2 separate regions of the Homo sapiens genome follow, and region 1 is linked to region 2. Evidence: promoter capture Hi-C in human tissues and cell types (Jung and others, 2019). All regions are on one chromosome and are shown on one strand. Each heading gives the region's core, a stretch centred on a gene start or on the middle of the fragment in contact. The rest is flanking DNA. Distances are from core to core; before and after follow the strand shown. Region 1 has its middle 100 kb from the start of ACVR1. Region 2 holds the start of ACVR1C (activin A receptor type 1C).

The links. The method cuts DNA at HindIII sites, captures the fragments that hold promoters and counts their contacts. A contact is called where the count stands out against the background at its distance.
Region 1: a contact is called between a fragment that was not itself captured here and the fragment with the promoter of ACVR1C in region 2, in 2 of the 25 tissues and cell types used here (hippocampus and spleen).

What each region holds. Positions count from the first base shown.
Region 1 is chr2:157,976,672-157,982,431 of GRCh38, reverse strand. No RefSeq gene overlaps it. Among named protein-coding and RNA genes, the nearest start is that of ACVR1, 100 kb to the right of the region's middle. The HindIII fragment of the contact is 5,954 bases long and covers 1-4,969 here.
Region 2 is chr2:157,625,280-157,630,612 of GRCh38, reverse strand. It overlaps ACVR1C (activin A receptor type 1C), which reads left to right and starts at 1,749. Exons shown (of 9, transcript NM_145259.3): 1 at 1,749-2,041. The coding sequence starts at 1,969. RefSeq lists a silencer at 1,805-2,034. The HindIII fragment of the contact is 14,203 bases long and covers 459-5,333 here.

The DNA of each region.
Region 1 (5,760 bases), core at 743-3,242, 350 kb before region 2:
TCAGCACTGAACAGATCTTCCAGAGAGAAAATCAACAAAGAAACATTGGGCCATGGCCCAAAGAAACATTGTACTATATACCAAATGGATCTAGTAGACATTTACAGAACATTTCATCCAATGGCTGCAGAATACACATTCTTTTCCTCAGTACATGGATTATTCTCAGAGATAAACTATGTGTTAGGTCACTATATGTTAGGTCACAAAACAAGTCTTAAAATATTCAAAATAATTGAAATAATATCAAGCATCCTCTCTGACCACAACAGAATCATACTAGAAATCAATAAAAAGGGCGGGGCGCGGTGGCTCACGCCTGTAATCCCAGCACTTTGGGAGGCCAACGCAGGTGGATCACGAGGTCAGGAGATCAAGACCATCCTGGCTAACACAGTGAAACCCCGTCTCTACTAAAAATAAAAAAAATTAGCCAGGCGTCGTGGCGGGCGCCTGTAGTCCCAGCTACTCTGGAGGCTGAGGCAGTAGAATGGCAAGAACCCGGGAGGCGGAGCTTGCAGTGAGCGGAGATCACGCCACTGCACTCCAGCCTGGGCAACAGAGCAAGACTCCATCTCAAAAGTAATAATAATAATAATAATAAGAAGAAGAATTTTGGAAACTATACAAATACTTGTTTAGTATTTGTATGTGCATTAGTCCATTTTCATGCTGCTGATAAAGACAGACCCAAGACTGGTCGATTTACAAAAGAAAGAAATTTAATGGGCCAGGCACAGTGGCTCATGCCTGTAATCCCAGCACTTTGGGAGGCCAAGGTGGGCGGTTCACAAGTTCAGGAGATCAAGACCATCCTGGTCAACATGGTGAAACTCTGTCTCTACTAAAAATACAAAAATTAGTTGGGTGTGGCAGCGCGTGCCTGTAATCCCAGCTACTCGGGAGGCTGAGAAAGGAGAATCTCTTGAACCCAGGAGGCGGAAGTTGCAGTGAGCTGAGATCATGCCACTGCACTCCAGCCTGGTGACAGAGCTAGACTCCATCTCAAAAAAAAAAACAAAGAAAAGGGTTTAATGGACTTACAGTTCCACATGGCTAGGGAGGCCTTGCAATCATAGTGGAGGGCAAGGAGGAGCAAGTCATGTCTTACATGGATGGCAGCAGGCAAAAAGAGAGAAGTTGTGTACAGAAACTCCCCCTTATAAAACCATCGGATCTCATGAGACTTATTCACTATCATGAGAACAGCATGGGAAATAACTGCCCCATGATTCAATTACCTCCCATGGGGTCCCTCTCACAACACATGGGAATTCAAGGTAAGATTTGGGTGGCAGCACAGCCAAACCATATCATTCCACCCCAGCCCCTCCCAAATCTCATGTCCTCACATTTCAAAACCAATCATGCCTTCCCTATAGTCCCCCAAAGTCTTAACTCATTTCAGCATTAACTCAAAAGTCCATAGTCTAAAGCCTCATCTGAGACAAGGCAAGGTCTTCCACCTATGAGCCTGTAAAATCAAAACAAGCTAGTTACTTCCTAGATACAGTAGGGTACAGGCATTGGGTAAATACACCTATTCCAAATGGAAGAAATTGGCCAACACTAAGGGGCTACAGGCCCCATGCAAGTCTGAAATCCAGCAGGGCAGTCAAATCTTAAAGTTTCAAAATGATCTCCTTTGAATCCATGTCTCTCATCCAGGTCATGCTGATGCAAGAGGTGGGTTTCCATGGTCTTGGGCAGCTCTGCTCCTGTGGCTTTGCAGGGTACAGCATCTCTCCCAGCTGCTTTCATGGGCTGGTGTTGATTGTCTGTGGGTTTTCCAGGTATATGGTGCAAGCTGTCAGTGGATCTACCATTCTGGAGTCTGGAGGATGGTGGCCCTTTTCTCACAGTTCCACTAGGTGGTGCCCAGGTAGGGACTCTGTGTGGGAGCTCTGAGCCCACATTTCCCTTCTGCACTGCCCTAGCAGAGGTTCTCCATGAGGGCCTCACCCCTTCAGCAAACTTCTTCACCCCTTCAGCAAACTTCTTCTAGGTTTCCTCTGAAACCTAGATGGAGGTTCCCAAAACCCAATTCTTGACTTCTGTGCACTCATAGACTCAATACCATGTGGAAGCTGCCAAGGCTTGAGGCTTGCACCCTCTGAAACCACGGCCCAATCTCTATTTCAGCCATGGCTGGAGTGGCTCGGATGCAGGGCACCAAGTCCCTAGACCGCACACAGCATGGGACCCTGGGCTTGGCCCACAAAACCATTTCTTCCTCCTAGGCCTCCAGGCCTGTAATGGAAGGGGCTGCTGCAAAAGTCTCTGAGATGCCCTGGAGACATTTTCCCCATTGTCTTGGGGATTAACATTGGGATCCTTGTTACTTACGCAAATTTCTGCAGGCATCTTGAATTTCTCCTTAGAAAATGAGTTTTTCTTTTCTATTGCATTGTCAGGCTGCAAATTTTCTGAACTTTTATGCTCTGTTTCCCATTTAAAACTGAATGCCTTTGACAGCACCCAAGTCACCTCTTGAATGCTTTGCTGCTTAGAAATTTCTTCTGCCAGATACCTTAAATCATCTCTCTCAAGTTCAAAGATCCACAAATCTCTAGGGCAGGGGCAAAATGCCACCAGTCTCTTTGCTAAAACATAACAAGAGTCACCTTTGCTCCAGTTCCAAACAAGTTTCTCATCTCCATCTAAGACCACCTCAGCCTAGATTTCATTGTTCATATCATTATCTGAATTTTGGACAAAGCCATTCAACAAGTCTCTAGGGAGTTCCAAACTTTTCCACATTTTCCTGTTTTCTTCTGAGCCCTCCAAATTTTTCCAACCTCTGTCTGTTACCCAGTTCCAAAGTTGCTTCCCCATTTTTGGGTATCATTTCAGCAGCACCTTACTCTACTGGTACCAATTTAATGTGTTAGTTCGTTTTCATGCTGCTGATAAAGACATACCCAAGACTGGCCAATTTACAAAAGAAAGAGATTTATTGGACTTACAGTTCCACGTGGATTGGGAGGCTTCACAATCATCATGGAAGGCAAGGAGGAGCAAGTCCCATCTTACACGGATGGCAGCAGGCAAACAGAGAAAGCTTGTGCAGGGAAACTCCCCCTTATAAAACCATCAGATCTCATGATACTTATTCACTATCATGAGAACAGCACAAGAAAGACCTGCCCCCATGATTCAATTACTTCCCATGGGGTCCCTCCCACAACATGTGGGAATTCAAGATGAGATTTGGGTGGGGACACAGCCAAACAAGATCAACGTGGAAATTAAACAATATGCTTCTGAATGACCAGTAGGTCAATGAAATAATTACAAAGGAAATTTAAAAATTTCTTGCAACACATGCTAATGGAAACACAACATACCAAAACCTATGGGATACAGCAAAAGCAGCACTAAAAAGGAAAGTTTATAGCTATAAATGCCCACATTAAAAAAAGAAAAACATCAAATAAACAACCTAACAAAGCATCTTAAAGAACTAGAAAATCAAGAGCAAACCAAATCCAAAATTAACAGAAGAAATAAAAAAGATCAGAGCAGAAATAAATAAAATTACAATGAAGAAAACAATACAAAAGATCAACGAAACAAAAAGCTGGTTTTTTTTAAGTTAAACGAAATGGACAAGCCTTTAGCCAGATTAGCTCAGAAAAAAAAAGACACAAATAAATAAAATCAGAGATGAAAAAGGAGACACAACAACTGATTCTGCAGCTATTCAAAGGATCATAAGTCACTACTGTGAACAACAATAAGCCAATAAATTGGAAAATCTAGAAGAAATGGGCAAATTTCTAGACACATACAACCTACAAAGATTAAACCATGAAGAAATCCAAAACATGAACAGATCAATAACAATGAGATGGAAGCCATAATCAAAAGTCTTTCAGTAAAGTAAAGCTCGGAACCTGATGGCTTCACCACTGAATTCTACCAAACATTTAAGGAAGAACTAATACCAATCTTACTCAAACTATCTGAAAAATCAAGGAGAAGTGACTACTTCCAAACTCATTCTACAAGGCTATTATTGCCCCAATACCAACACCAAAGATACCTCAAGAAAAGAAAACTACAGGTCCATATCTCTGATGAATACTGATGCACAAATCTTCAACTAAATACATATTTAACAATACATTAAAAAGATGATTCATCATGACCAAGTGGGATTTATCCCAGGGATGCAATCATGGTTCCAACATATGCAAAATAATCAATGTGATACATTATATCAACAGTATGAAGGACAAAAACCATACAATCATTTCCATCAATGCTGAAAACCCATTTGACAAAATTCAGCATCTCTTCATGAAAGAAAACCCTCAAAAAACTGGGTACAGAAGGAACATACGTCAACCTAATAAAAGCCATATACAAAAGATCCATAGCAGATGTCATACTAACTGGGGGGTGAGGGGGTACTGAAAGCTTTTCCTCTAATATCTGGAACATGACAAGGATGCCCACTATCACCACTGTTATTCAACGTAATACTGGAAGTCCTAGATAGAGCAGCTAGACAAGAGAAAAAGAAAAGGGCATCCAAATTGGAAAGGAAGAAATCAAATTATCCTTGTTGGCAGATTATGTGATCTTATATTTGGAAAAACCTAAAGGCTCCACCAAAAAACTGTTAGAACGTATAATCAAATTCAGTAAAGTTGCAGGGTGCAATATCAACATACAAATATCAATAGCATTTTTATATGCCAACAGTGAACAAATCGAAAAAGAAATTTTAAAAAGTAATCTCATTTACTTTAGCTGCAAATAAAATTAAATGCCTAGAAATTAATCAAAGAAGTGAAAGATCTTTATAATAAAAACTATAAAACACTGATGAAAAAAATTGAAGAGGACACCACAAATTGGAAAGATATTTCATGTTCATGGATTGGAAGAATCAATATTGTTAAAATGTCCATACTACCCAAAGCAATCTATAGATTCAATGCAATCCCTATCAAAATGCCAATGACATTATTCACAGAAATAGAAAAAAAAATCCTAAAATTTATATGGAACCACAAAAGACCCAGAATAGCCAAAGCTATCCTAAACAAAAAGAACAAAACTGGAGGAAGCACATTATCTGGCATCAAATTATACTTCACGACTATAGTAACCAAAACATCATGGTACTAGAATAAAAACAGACACACAGACCAATGGGATAGAATAGAGAACCCAGAAACAAATCCACACACCTACAGTGAGCTCATGTTCGACAAAGGTACCAAGAAGATACACTAGGGAAAAGACAGTCTCTTCCATAAATGATGCTGGGAAAACTGGACATTCATATGCAGAAGAAAGAGACTAGACCCCTATCTCTCATCATATACAAAAATCAAATCCAAATGGATTAAAGACTTAAAGACCTCAAACTATGAAACTACTACAAGAAAACATTGGGGAAACTTCCAGGACATTGGACTGCACTAAGATTTCTTGAGTAATACCCCACAAGCACAGGCAACCAAAGCAAAAAAGCATAAATGGGATCACATCAAGTTAAAAAGCTTTTGTATAGCAAAGGAAACAACCCAAAAAGGAAAGAGGCAACCCACAGAATGGGAAAAATTATTCACAAACTACCTATCTAACAAGGGATTAATAACAAGTATATATAAGTAGCTCAACCAACTCTGTCAAAAAAAAAAAAAATCTGGCCAGGCATGGTGGGACACACCTGCAATCCCAGCACTTTGGGAGGCCAAGGCGGGTGGATCACCAGAGGTCAGGAGTTAGAGACCAGCCTGGCCA
Region 2 (5,333 bases), core at 500-2,999:
TTTTTTTTTTTTTTTTTTGCAAATGAGAGCTTTACAACTTGCAGAGGATGTTGCTTTAGAGACAAAATAAGTATGTGGGGAGTAAATCCCTGCCATTGTTGTAATGTGTATGGTTTAACAATGCTCTCTCATACACTACCCTTTTTGATCCTGGTCAAAGTTCTGGGAAATAGGGAGGAATTAAGTTCCATTTACTTTTGAGGAAGCAGACCCAGAAAGTTCATTACATTCTGCTATTTAGGCTCCCGGTATCATGATCTATTGGCAGATCACAATTTAAGGTGCAGTTATCAAATAATTAGCAAGCCAAACCAGACAAAATATAATGTGTCCTAGCAGTTTCTTGCCTTTTTAAAAAAGCATCTGTTTTGTGGGTGTCTGAAAGGGCTCAGATTTGTCCCACATCTCCAGTTTTTTGTTTGTTTGGATCCAGGATAAAACAAGAACAAAGTTTTTTTGTGCTTAGGAATATAAGATGGTGGCAGAAAAGATCCTCAGGATGCCACCCACATCTCAAAGTCCAACAACCATCTCATCTCCCATACTGTGATCCTTTGATAATAAAGTCAATTACATACAACATTTCACCATAGGTCTTTCATAGAACTTAGAACACCTAGCATATAATTTAGTCCTGAGCTAGGTGAAGAAGCAAGAAATGTTTTACTCTAAAGCAATTTTTATGACGCTATCACTTTTCAAGGAACCCCCAACAGTAGTAATAACACCAGTATTGTATTCTTGCTTTTTCGCGTTGTTCAGATTGAAATAATCCCATTCACTTTAATGTTCAGGCTCCATAGGTGAATTGAATTTAATTTCTATAAATTGGTAATGTTGCCGTTGTCCTTATATTTTCAGGCACAATCCAGGCCTTATATTTTCAGGCACCCGTTTGACAGTTAGCCTCTAGGGATTAAACAATACTCAAACAAGTTTTTCATATACTACTTTAAACAATTCTTCCCCTTCCCTTAATCCGTGTGTGTGTGTGTGTGTGTGTGTGTGTGTGTGTGTGTGTGTGTATGTTCCCTTAGTTCTTCAATTGCTGAAGTTGTAGCTGCCGAAATTATCTTCCATAGGTGAGGTCTTTTACCACCAGACGTGGGTCACACATTGTAGATGGCCACATCACCTGGCGCAGGTGGTCCAGCTTTGGTCGCCATTCATAGAGGGAAGGGTTCCCAAAAGGCACCCAAGAAGAGATGAAGTTTGTTAAACCAAAGCTTATAGGTCCAGAAGGCAGTCGGACAACTGGTCATTTCCAGGGATGAACAGAGAGGGCGCCCTTCCCCAGAGGCACAAATGGCCAGGACGCAGGGGTGGGACAAGCCAGTAGGAAGCCCGCGGGGCTCTCACAGCGCAACCTGGTTGGACTTAAGGACCCTGGACAACAAACGTCAGGAGAGCTAGGAGGCTGGCTCTTCTGCGGGAGGTTATAGAGCGGATCACCTGGGCGCAATCGCCGCGTAGTTGAAGTTTCCCTAAAGTCTCAGTGGGGCTTTTCCTCCCGTGAGAAGCCCCATTCCTGAGTATCTAGTCCCGGAGGCTCCGCACTGCTTCCCCACGCCCCCTCTTTCTTCGCCCCAGCTCTGGGCGATCTCACTGCCGGGCACAGGGCCGCCTTTGCCTGCCTGCCCTGCAGCAGCAGGCCCGGGCGGCTGCGAGAGGGCGCAGGGGGCGGAGGCGCGGCAGGGGCGGGCTCTGCCGCCCGCCCCACCACCCGCTCCCCGCCCGGCTGCGGGGCCAGTGGCAGGAGCGCCGCGCACCGCCAGCCGCAGGGGGCGTGGGATGGGGGCGGCCGGGGAGGGGGGCGCCCACACTGACTAGAGCCAACCGCGCACTTCAAAAGGGTGTCGGTGCCGCGCTCCCCTCCCGCGGCCCGGGAACTTCAAAGCGGGCCGTGCTGCCCCGGCTGCCTCGCTCTGCTCTGGGGCCTCGCAGCCCCGGCGCGGCCGCCTGGTGGCGATGACCCGGGCGCTCTGCTCAGCGCTCCGCCAGGCTCTCCTGCTGCTCGCAGCGGCCGCCGAGCTCTCGCCAGGTACGGTGCTGGTTTCTCTCCCGACGCCCGCGAGGGTGGGAGCTGGGAGGAGGTCTGCGGGTGAGCACGGGGGTGGGGGACAGGGGGTGCTCCGAGCAAACTGACCTTCGGGGCGGACAGGGAAGCGCCAGTCGGATTGAGGGGGCGCGGGATAGGGTGCAGCGTGGGCACCTGACGTCTGGCAGCCGTAGGGGTAGACAGGTGTGTTGGGGACGAAGCCGCCCGGAAGAGGGAAAAGGCAGCAGGGACGTGGGGGAATAAGTAGTAGGGGTGAGGTGGGTGACTAATTTGTGGGCAGTTTGCAGCGGAGAAAATAGGAGAGCGTTTGTGGGTGCGCGCATGGCTGGGAGCTGGGTTCACCCTGCAGGGACCTGGAGGGCTGCAGGTATGCGTCGGACGCGCTCTGTGCTAAGCCCCTGAGAGCTGCTCAAGGATGGTGGCATGGTGGTGGTGGGAGGTGGTGATTTAGTCTGAGTTTTAGGAGGCGGGGAATACCCCAAAAGCCGCAGATGCCAAGCTATGGAGGCGAGAGTGGGAGCTTAAATCTGTGTGGTTTGCAACGCACATTGCTTTCGAGGTACGATCTTTACTCAGAGTTCCTGGGGAAAAAAATTCTGGCAAGCGCCCCAGAGTTTATAACAGGTCTGTGCCTTGATAGGCTAAATAGAGCCCTCTACCCAATCTAGAAGCCAGACGTTTCTTTATAATGTTTACTAGAAAGTGGGGCAAATGCATCTTTGGTAAAATCATAATATGCTGTGACTAAAAGCCCTTTACCTCGAAAACTATTTTCATTACATTGTCCTGGATTATGCAGAGGAGGAGCAGATTCTTTGCTAACTCATTCTTTAAAAATTTCTATCAGACATTGAAGACATTTGCACATAAAAATCTGGTGTTTTCCCATAGAGCTGTGTTTTGTCCGAAGCTGATTTTGATGCATTTTGTTTTCCCAGATGACAATCTGTTTGACATTAATAGCTATATTCATGGTGGGTCGTTTTCCTCTTAGTGACATGTGCAAGAGAATGATTTGAATGATATGATTGCTGTCATGTACAGATTTCAGTGTTTCAGATGGCCTGAGAGAATCACTAAATACAATATTCAAATATAAATTTGATTATTGAAAAGGATTAATTGACAAAATCTGAGGATTAAAACATTCCAGTTATCTTTTAGGAAAACAGCCCAAGACTGTCGGAAAGATGATGGGATAAAGTGAAATATTTGCATTTAGAGTTAATAAATTTATAAGTGGGAGAAAACCAACTATGGGAAAGTCTTTAAAAAATGGGTGAAAACTCTGCTAACTTGGGATACTGAAAGTGCTCTTGACAATTTAATAGAGTTTACAAAAAAAAGTCTTCAAGGTATCACAGTTTTGATGGGGTGAAACTGCCTCTGGAGGCTGTCTGTACAACTCTTTTTATTTGGAGGAGCTGATAACTTGGCTGCACACATTTCTACAAAACAGATTCAATTTTTTTAAAATGTAGCTTCAAGGGTATATTTTGTTGTATACCCAGAATCTTTAGAAAATTTCAGAGACCTTGAGCATAGCAACATGCCTCATGTTCTTGAAAAGGCATGGAAACTTTTGACATTGAAATATGCAAAAAATAAAAAAAAGATAATCCATTCAAAGTCGCTCACTTAAAATTTGAAGTCTAAGAAAAATGCATGATATGGAATAATATAGTAGAGATGTATTTATTGAAGCTGAACTTTTATGAAAAACTTTTCTATGTCAAGTGCAATCATTTTCAAATCTCCTTAAGAAGTTTTTACCCCTCTGTGTCCCACGTTAACAATGTATATTGCTACTTATAGTATTTATTCTTAACTTTATATAAAACTCTGGCTATTTAGTAGAAAGATTCAAGGTAGTTTTGTTTTGCTTTTCACTTTTTCAATTGGTTTTATGACATGGTTAGCCAACTGTATTTTTACCTGGTCACTTTTACAAATTATACTGTTAATCATATTGGCCATTTATGACATGTACTTGCTGTTGTTGGAATGTTATATGAGAAGTTGTTCTTGATGTAATGACATAGTCAGTGAAACTGTGTGACAGAAGGCACCACCTTTCATCTGGATCTGCAGAGCAGGCCTACGACTTTAAATATCTGAACACATGATAAACCAGTAAACCTTTTTTACTTTGGCTGCTCATTCCCCACATTGTTGTCACCTTAGGGGTGTCCATTGCTCCTTTTTGAGAATCTCAGAAGATAACAGCTGGTAGAGACTTAGAAAAACTGTTTATTGGTCTGGACTGGAATTAAAAAAATCAGGCTGGCTGGGTGCAGTGGCTCACGCCTCTAATCCCAGTACTTTGGGAGGCCGAGGTGTGAGGATTGCTTGAGGCCAGCAAGTTCAAGACCAGCTCAGGCAACATAGTGAGACACCATCTCTACAAAAAATTTAAAAACAATTAGCCAGTTCTGGTGGCACACACCTGTAGTCCTAGCTACTTGGGAGGCTGAGACAGAATTGCTTGAGACCAGGAGTTCAAGATTGCAGTGAGCCATGATCACACCACTGCACTCCAGCCTGGGTGACACAGTGAGGCACCGTCTCTAAAAACAAGAGCAACGAAAAACTCAGGCTCCTCTGAGTTGCTCTGGTTATGTAGGTTCTGGATGCCTTGATGTTTGATAAGAGAGACCTGACATGGCTTCACAATATTCACCATGTGTACCCAAAAAAGAAGTGGCAGAAAATGTCCTGGAGTTCTCTACTTTGAAGCTGTGATTTGGATGTTACATAGATTTACATATTGTGCATTCTCTTCTAATTTCTTGAAACTCCTTTGTCCTCTGGTCCAGAAAGGATTATTAAGAGTCCAGAAAGCCCTATGTTGTTACTCCAAAAATGGAATAAATATTTCCTTAATAACCAGGGTGAGAGTGGGGGTTTCAAGTAATGAAATTCTTCCCCCCACCCCCCTGCACCCCTCTGCACCCCCTCACCCCCACTGCAAACAATAGTTAGCAGTTTCCACTAAGAGTTTTCCACAGTGTTGCTGGAAGTGAAAGTGAAAGCTCAGGGCTGACTGAGTTTATAAATGCAAAAGATGTTGCCATCTTTGCCCTTCTTTAAGCATAGTCATTTATTGGTTGATTGACACAGATGTGGCAAGAGGCTCCCTGGTTCCAAGGAAGACATCTCTGGCCCAGGAGAAACTATGCTTAGAGATTTCCTCTGAATTGCTAAACTCATACAAAAAATAAAGGACTTTGAGGTGTGAAAGTGAGTAGCTAAGGATGATGCTACATTTTTGACC